Regions from separate parts of the Homo sapiens genome. Here all the other regions are linked to region 3. The links are contacts of gene promoters, found by promoter capture Hi-C in human tissues and cell types (Jung and others, 2019). All regions are on one chromosome and are shown on one strand. The core of a region is centred on a gene start or on the middle of the fragment in contact, and the rest is flanking DNA. Distances in the headings are between cores, read along the strand shown.

The links. The method cuts DNA at HindIII sites, captures the fragments that hold promoters and counts their contacts. A contact is called where the count stands out against the background at its distance.
Region 1: a contact is called between a fragment that was not itself captured here and the fragment with the promoter of SP9 in region 3, in 1 of the 25 tissues and cell types used here (heart right ventricle).
Region 2: a contact is called between a fragment that was not itself captured here and the fragment with the promoter of SP9 in region 3, in 1 of the 25 tissues and cell types used here (lymphoblastoid cells).

The regions. Positions count from the first base shown.
Region 1 is chr2:173,920,871-173,923,688 of GRCh38, reverse strand. All of the region lies in intron 4 of SP3 (Sp3 transcription factor), which reads left to right. Among named protein-coding and RNA genes, the nearest start is that of SP3, 43 kb to the left of the region's middle. The HindIII fragment of the contact is 4,507 bases long and covers 1-2,818 here.
Region 2 is chr2:174,035,772-174,038,559 of GRCh38, reverse strand. No RefSeq gene overlaps it. Among named protein-coding and RNA genes, the nearest start is that of LINC01960, 12 kb to the right of the region's middle. RefSeq lists enhancers at 395-895, 896-1,396. The HindIII fragment of the contact is 5,340 bases long and covers 1-2,788 here.
Region 3 is chr2:174,333,512-174,336,293 of GRCh38, reverse strand. It overlaps SP9 (Sp9 transcription factor), which reads right to left and starts at 1,340. Exons shown (of 2, transcript NM_001145250.2): 1 at 1,181-1,340; 2 at 1-187. The coding sequence starts at 1,201. It overlaps LOC102724194 (a long non-coding RNA gene), which reads left to right and starts at 1,318. Exons shown (of 3, transcript XR_427194.5): 1 at 1,318-2,554; 2 at 2,669-2,737. The HindIII fragment of the contact is 14,947 bases long and covers 1-2,782 here.

The DNA.
Region 1 (2,818 bases), core at 173-2,672, 410 kb after region 3:
AGAACAACAAAATCTTAATGGCACACTATTGATAAAAGATAATGTCTCATTTTATCAACCATACTGTAATTCATATTTATCTAATGTTAGCTATTTAAATTAAGTATGCGTGTTCCAGACTTGATAAGTTGGTTAAGAATTTATCTTAAATGTTCTGTTAGCTCTATTGATAAATAATTAGCAGTTAATTTTAGGAAGAGGTATTTAGGATTTTCTTGTAATATTTTTAATAGAAATCTAGGCATGCCCTGAGTTATTGATACTTAACTAATACTGAAAATTAGCCTTATCTTTGTAACCATATTGTGTGTGTGGGTGTGTGTGTATATTTCATTATTTAAATTTTCTGTTTTTTTCTCTTCAATTCTTGCCCAGGTATGCAGAATTTTTTTTTCTTTTGTACATACCCCTTTCGCAAGCTTGTTTTATTGGTAGGCCTTGAAAACAGCCATAATCACAGGACAGAGATACTGTCAGTGCAATAACTCATCAAATGAAAAGGAAACTTAAACATTTTGAGGTGGAGAATAGACATAAAAAAACAGTGCTGTTTATAAAGTTCTTAAATGTGTCATACACATTTCCTTGAATTTCTGTTTTCATTGCTTAAATTTTTTGCATACTTTTCCTCAAATATTAATCAAATTTAAGTCAGCACATTCATTTCTTTATACTGCTAGCATGCACTATTGCTACAGAATATAAAGGCTGATTTACAAATACTTCAGGTACCCTTATGTGTCAAATCTACCCTTGTGGGCTAACCTAGGAACTGTACTGCCAATTTTATAATGCTTGCTTTTATAGCAAAACCCTTGGAAAGAGTTAACCTGTACTTGTTTACAATTCATCTCCTTCCACTCTCTGGAGTCTATACTAGGCAGGGTTTTGTGCTCACAGTTCTTGTCAAGATCACCAGTGATTACCACAATGTTATATCCAAGGATCATTTCTTAGTCTTTATTTTACTTGACTTTTTAAGTATTTGACACAGTTAAGTTCTTCCCGAAATGATTTCTTCAGTTTGGTTTCTGGACACCAGTTTCCTCATATCTCACTGGCACTCTCAGTCCCCTATGCTGGTTCTTTTTAGTCTCTGCTTGTTAATTTTGGAGTGCTGCAGGGTTTCCTCCTGTCTACATTATATTCCAGATGACTCTCAATGCCTAATGTATATGCTGATATTGGCAGGCCAGATTTCTACCTGAACTCCAAACCCATTGACTGTCTGATGAACACCTTCATCTGGATATTCAATAGGCATTCAGAACTTTCATATTTCAAAATAGGCCCCTGACTGGCACCCCTCCCCTGCAATCTTTTCTACCTTCAGTTTACCATATCTCAGTTAATGGCAACTCCATCTTTCTAGTTGCTCAGGATTTAAAAAAAAAAAAACCTTGGGAGTGTTTTTAACTTCTTTCTGTTCTTGCTCCTCACATGATAACCTGTTATCAATCTGTTAGCAGATGTCTTTGACTCTACTTTAAACATATTTTCTGACTGAACAATTCTACCCCTCCTCCTCAATACCTTAGCTTCAGGCCACTATCATCTCTTTTTAAGACTGTGTCAGGCCATTCCTGTATTACTATATAGAAATATCTGGGACTGGGTAATTTGTAAGAGGTTTAATTGACTCAGTTCTGCAGGCTGTACCGGAAGCATAGTGCTGGCATCTGGGTCTGGGAAGGCCTCAAGAAGCTTTTACTCATGGCAGAAGGCAAATGGGGAATGGGCACGTCACATGGTAGAAGTAGAGGGAGGTGAGAGACAGAGAAAGAGTAGGAGGGAAGGTGCCACACACTTAAACCAGATCTCTTAACTATTGCAAGGACAGTGCCAAGACAGTGGTGCTAAACCATTTATGAGAAATCCGCCCCCATGATCCAATCACCTCCTACCAGGCTCCACCTCCACCTTTGGGGATTGCATTTCAACATAAGATTTGGATGGGGACAAATATCTAAACTGTGTCAGGGTCTTTCTTTGTTGCCCAGGCTGGAGGGCAGTGATGTGATCATGGCTCACTGCAACCTGAACCTCCTGGGCTCAAGTGATTCTCCCACTTCAGTCTCCTGAGTAGCTGGGACCACAAGGCATGTGCCACCATGCCTGCCTGGCCTGTTTGTTTGTTTGTTTGTTTGTTTGTTTGTTTTTGGATAGTGACGGGACCGCTCTCTCTTGGCTCAGGCTGGTCTTGAACTCCTAGGTTCAATCGTTTCTCCCGCTTCGGTCTCCCAAAGTGCTGATATTACAGGCATGAGCCACCCTGCCCAGTCAGCATGAACTTTTAACTTGCTAACTGCCTTATCCTTAGAACTTAGAACAGTGACTGGCACATCGTAGCCATACATATAGTTGTTGAGTGAATAAAATCATATTCTAAATTTCATATTATGAATTTAATTTGTGGGACACACTCATTTTATTATTTGTATAAAAATGGGGGAAGGTTTAGTCAACTATGTGGGAACTAGAGGTAAAGCAAAAAAATTGTCTTTAACAGTTCCTAAGTAATCACCTATAAATTACGTTAAAATATTTAATTTATAATAATCTTTATATTGAAGTACAATATGCATTCAGAAAATGTAGAGATCAAATGTATATAACTTGATGAAATTTTACAAAATGAACACATAGGAAAACTACCACCCAGATCAAGAAATAGGATATTACCAGCAACCCTGAAATCTCCCTGTACTCAGTCATATATGTCCCTCAAAAGTAGGCAGTCACCACTCTTCTATCCCCATGGAGCACCTACTCCCTTCACATTTAAATAATTATTTTTAAACTGGGCTCAGTGGCTCAT
Region 2 (2,788 bases), core at 231-2,730, 300 kb after region 3:
CTTTCTGCTCCTCAAGTGTGCTAAGGTTGATGCTACCTTGGGGCATTTTGCAGAGGCTCTTTTATTTACCTAGAATATTGTTGCCCTGGCTTCTCCTGGACTGGCCCCTTCTTTTTATCCAGCTCCAATGTCATTTTCTCTGAAAAGTCCTCCCGATCCCACAATTCCCCCGGCCCAAATTATTTTCCAAGAGCATCTGTCACCATGGGAAATCATCTTTTTTATTTGTTTACTTTGTTGTCTGCATTGCCTGCCTTTCTCCCAACAGAATTAAAACTCCCTTTGGGTAGTAGCTACATGTCATTTCTAGAGTCTACAGCAGTATCTGCCACAAAGTAAGCACTCAGTACACTCCTATGGAATGGACACTTGTATCATGAAAGGAGCTGAGTTCTTGTTAGAAGGTGCTGCATGGCATCTGTGACTCGTCTTTCCCTTGGTGCCAACTCTATGTCACCAAATCTTCAGTGGGTTCTACTTCTGAAGAATGTCTTATACCTGTCCCTCTGTCCCCTCCTATTTCCCACATTCCCAGAGCCACTGCTCTGATACCTGGGTAGTGACAGCCCTATACCTTTCTCCCTGCTGCCCACGCTTCCTAAAAGGCGAGTGGCCCTGCCCCTGCTCTACTTCACCCCTTGCTTCCATTCACGCCCCACTTCTGGGACAGCCAATCCCTCTTGGTATTCTCCTGCCATTCTTGGACTAAATCAAAGCATCTTCCCCGCAGTACCCCGAGGTCCTGCCTTCCAGCCGGCAGACCTTGCTCTTCTCAGTAGCAGAGCCCAGCATGGAAGGGGAGGGAGTTCCTTAGGAATCTCTTAAGAAGACCTGAGGTCCACTGTGGATTCATGAGGCTCCTGAAGGCAGCAGGGGGTGTGAAGAGGGGCTGGGCAATAGCCAGAGGGAGCTTTCTGAAGATGGCTCAGGAGGAAGTGGAAAAGGGCCCCGCACAGGCAGATCTGGGGTCCCAGACAGCTCATGGGGAGCGTTGGGTAAAGGATTCTGGGGCTGCCCTAACACAAAGCGGTCAAGGCCTTGGAAGAGCTGGAGTGGAGATGCTCGCAGGCAGTGTGGTAACCCTACCCCTTCTTGCCTCTTATGCAGCCATATGCCTGTCCAAGGGTGAGCTGGTGGGCTGTGTAGGAAATTAAGAGGGGATCAAGCAAACCCAGGGAGACAGGACATCTGGCATTGCTGAGGGAACTGCCCACAGCCAATGTGGCCCTTCTCTTCCCATCAAAAGCTGTTGCCAGGTGTAGGTGGGCAGGGGCTGGCAATGGCTTGTACCTTGTATATTAGAAATTTATTGTGGTCTGTTCAGGTAACAATGTTTAGAGACCTTTCTTATGAAAGGTGCTATGTTCCCTGTGAGTCATTAAGACTATTTATTTATTTTTAATACCAAATGTCTAAATTCATCTACCCTCTAGGGATCATTTCATCTTGTACTGTGTGCTATCTCAGCAGAAAAAATGCTTTCCCCAAATGTGTCAGTTCTATTTTTAAAAAGGTTCAGTGACCTATTTCTGTAATTCTCACAGACACTGGAAGTACAGCAGAGACTATTTAGGCTCAGCTTTGTCACCAAAAAGTTACCCTGGCTTCCAGGTGTTGCCTAGAGAGATGCCATCTTGCTTTGCAATGGAGAAGCATAAATAAGAGGAGTACACCTGTCCCCCCTCATGGAGGGAATTCACCCCAAGACTCTCAGTGTTTGTCTGAAACTACAGATAGTACTGAACCCTACATAGGCTACGTTTTTTCCTGTATATACATACTTATGATAAAGCTTAATTAATAAATTAGACACAGTAAGAGATTAGCAACAATAACTAATAACAAGATAGAACAATTAAGTGAAGTAAGAGTTACTGGAACACAGGCATAGTGATACTGCCAAGAGGGCTACGGAGCAACCACGGGCAGGGAGCGTCTATGGCACCAAGATGCTGGACAAAGGGGTGAGTCACGTCCTGGCAGGACAGAGTGGGGCAGTATGGGATTTAATCATGCCACCCAGAACAGTATACAACTGAAAACTTAGGAATTGTTTATTTCTGGTGTTTCCATTTAATATTTTCAGACCAAGGCTGATCATGGGTAACTGAAACTATGGAAAGTGGAACTTTGGATGGGGGGACTACTACATTGTCAGGATAAGATCATGAGAGCAAAAAACGTACACACATAGACACACATACGACATGTTTCTCCAGTTTCAAACAATGTCATGATGACTACACTCCGCCTTTAGCCAAACTCGACATTGGGAAATAGCTTAAGAATCAACAGTTTCTGAGACAAAGAACTTAAAAAGACAATTTACAAAAGAGAAACTACAGCTCATCAACTAAGATGTGGCAAGCGGTTAGATCCACTAGTAATCCAGGAAATGAAAATTAGAGCAACGCCACTTTCCAAAACTAGCCCCTGGTGGGAGAAGTCAGAACAACGATGACCCTTGGGTGGAGTGGAGGAGGGGGAACGGGGCCACAATAGTGGCCTCTAGGGGTAAGGTTCTGTTTCTTAATCTGGGTGCTGATTACTCAGGGGTGTTCACTTTGTAAAAATTCACTCGTGATTTGTGTACTTTTCTGAACGCATGATAAACTTCACTACAAAGTTTACATTAAAAAATCAAGCTCACTTTTTACCTATTAAATTAGCAAAAACAATTTTTTTTTAGTAATACTAGCCAGTGTGGTTTAAGCCATCACAAAGCTAACATTTTTACATATTGCTAATCACAGTATACATTAATATAGTGCCCTTTGGGGAGGAATTT
Region 3 (2,782 bases), core at 91-2,590:
TGGCCACCGCGAAGCCCGAGAGGCTGGAGCCGAGGTTGCAGCTGGACGAGGAGCGCTTCCAGGGGTGAAAGCCGCCTTTGGCGAAGGCGCTCGACTCTGGCAGCGTCGTCAGCGGGCTCGTGTTGCCGATCTTGTTGCAGGTCGCCGCCAGCATGGCCAACGGGGTCGTTCCGAAGCGCGGCTCTTCCTAGAGTGGGTGGGATGGGGGAGGGAGCAAGAAGGAGGAGGGCAAGAGGAAGTGGGGGAAGAAACAAAGTGCACCCGTGAGCAGCCTCGTCCCCTGCGGCTGCTCCCGGGGGGTCCTGGCTCCCCGCCTCGCGCCTCCTCCCCACGCGCCCGCGGAGGAGTCGCCGCACCGGGCGCGGAGCAGGGGCGATCACCCGGGCGAAGGTCCAGGCGCCGGAAAGTTGCACTTCGCTGAGGCTATAAATCAAAGATGCCTCCGTGTTCCCCGCTGCAACCCTGCCTACAACCGGACTTGGGTTGTCGCCGTAAACCGGCTCATCTCCCAGAAGACCCCAAGTCGCCCTTCGGGGTGAAGCGCGAAGGTAAACACAGAGACCAGAGACAACAAACACCGGGTGAGGGCGGAGGCGGCCGAAACAGCTGCCAGGGACGGGCGAAACTTGCAGCTCTCCCAGGGTGGCTACGACTTGACTTTTCTTTTTTAATAGAAAACGTTTGGTTTTAAAGTTTACATACACACAAAAACAGCGATTATGAAAACAATAATCCGAGGATAAGCGGCCAGAGACAGATTTCAAAGTCATGGGCGAATTGGGGAGCCGCGGAAATGTAAATGTTTATTAGCGTGACTAGATGGACTGCAAAACGATTAAGACTGTTTTCTGGAAACACCATTGTCGCATAATTGCAACAAAATCCCCAAAGCAATGCGGGGGATGGGGTATAAATCACGAGGGGAAGAAAAGAAACCTCTAGCTTTTTTTTGAAACCAAATGAAAAAGGACTTGATTAAGAAGGCCTTTTCTTGCAAAGGCATCTTTCTGGGTTCCAAAAACTTGGGGAAAAATCAGTCCCAGAAATGTGGAAAGTGCTAATAGAAGCTGAAGCTGCAGTCTAGCAGCAACAGTTTCTCCGGAGCCGCAGACCCCAGAAGCCATAACGAAAAATTACTCCGGTTAAAACAAGCAAATGCGTTGCCGCGCTTGCGACTTACCCCGAGTATAGACGTGGCCATAGCAGGTCTCTGGCTGCGCAGCGAGGCTGGGAGCGGGGCTGAGCCTGGCGGCTGCTCGGAAAAACTGCTTGGGTCCCGCGCGGCTCCCGCGTCCCCGCGCTCGTGCCGAGCGGACTCCAGGCTCCCGCCGGCTAAACTCAGCCTAAGTGCGAGGAGCACCCGCTTTGAAGTGCCGCTGGCTGCGCCTCTCGCCCAATGAGGGCGCAGGCAGAGCAGACCGGAGCTGCCCCGCAGCCAATCAGACGCTCCGAGGGGCCCGAGCCCGGGCTCCCGGCGCGTGCCAGTCAAGTCAGCTAGCTAGGGCCGCGGGGGTGGGGGGGAGTAGTGGGGGATACTTGCGGGGGGGGGGCGAGGGCGGGCTGGGGACTGAAGAAATTACAGTGCAATTAAAAATTTACACTCACGCACCAAGCCAGGTTTAAGTACCAATGAAACCGAGCCACAAGCACCCCCCCACACACAAACCACCCCGAGATGTTGCAAGTTAGGGCTGACAGTCCTACTCGACTCCCCACTTGTAGGAAAGGAGGCAGGAGGGGAGGAGACACCCAGACACAGCCCGCACCAGCAGGGCCCAAGTGGAGACGGAAATGTGAGCCCTCACTTTGTGTGTCCAGGCTTTTGCCTACAGAACACAACTTCAGCTTGTATCTATCATTCTTGCTTGTGATTTTTATCATTTTCGTGTGTCTTCTACCCAATTCCTTATTCCACTAGATTCAATTTCACTCTCACAGTTATACTGGGGAGGGGGCGCGAAGGGACAGCTCCTCCGAGAGGAGCGAAATAGGCCTCTCTGTACAGATCTACATCCACAGATTTGTTGGGAGGGCCTGGAGCCTGCTGCATCCCGCCATTTCCCCCCAGCGGTGTAAGTGACTTCCTAATTGTCGCTCTGGCCTCTGACCCGGGGGGTAATACAAGTGCCACTCACGCTAGAGGCTTCTGGTGGTAATTGAGGGCACCCTTTGTACGGTTTCGCCAGCGCTTAGATACCAGGTTAACCCAGTTGTCAAATATGACTAAACAGTGGGATGTGCTGATTATCTGCCGGGTTTTGCTGTGGGCTGGCATGGGGGTGGGAGGCATCAGCCCATACAACACGCTGCACGAAGCCGCTTATTTTCTCACTGTAACAACTTTGGAAACAGAGACCGGCGCGAGCGGCGTCCGCCCCCACCTCCACCTCCGCTGAAGCTGCAGCTTGCTCGGCTGTTTGTTTAACCCGGTGAAGATTTGCATGTCGCGTTTCATCCTGGAGTGGAGTTTTCTTGTCCCAGCTCCAACCCACTCCCATTCCAGACCACCAGGGCCTAGAGGCTCGTCCGTAGGGCAAGTGCGCTGTTTTAAGAGGTAGGCTCCCCATTAGTGCCCTGCTTTCACGGACGCGCCCGAGAAATCTCTCCAGGACTTTCACCCGGGAGGGCGGAGGACCAGGCCACACGTGGGCGCTTCCACATTTTGCAGGCTGGAAGCATCCTGAAGTCCTCCCTGGACCTTGTCAGTGTGAAAAGAGGCGTCCTCAAGCAGACCAGGGTGCGTCTTCGAGTCCCCCAGCAACCGCTGACCTGCTTGTTTTTC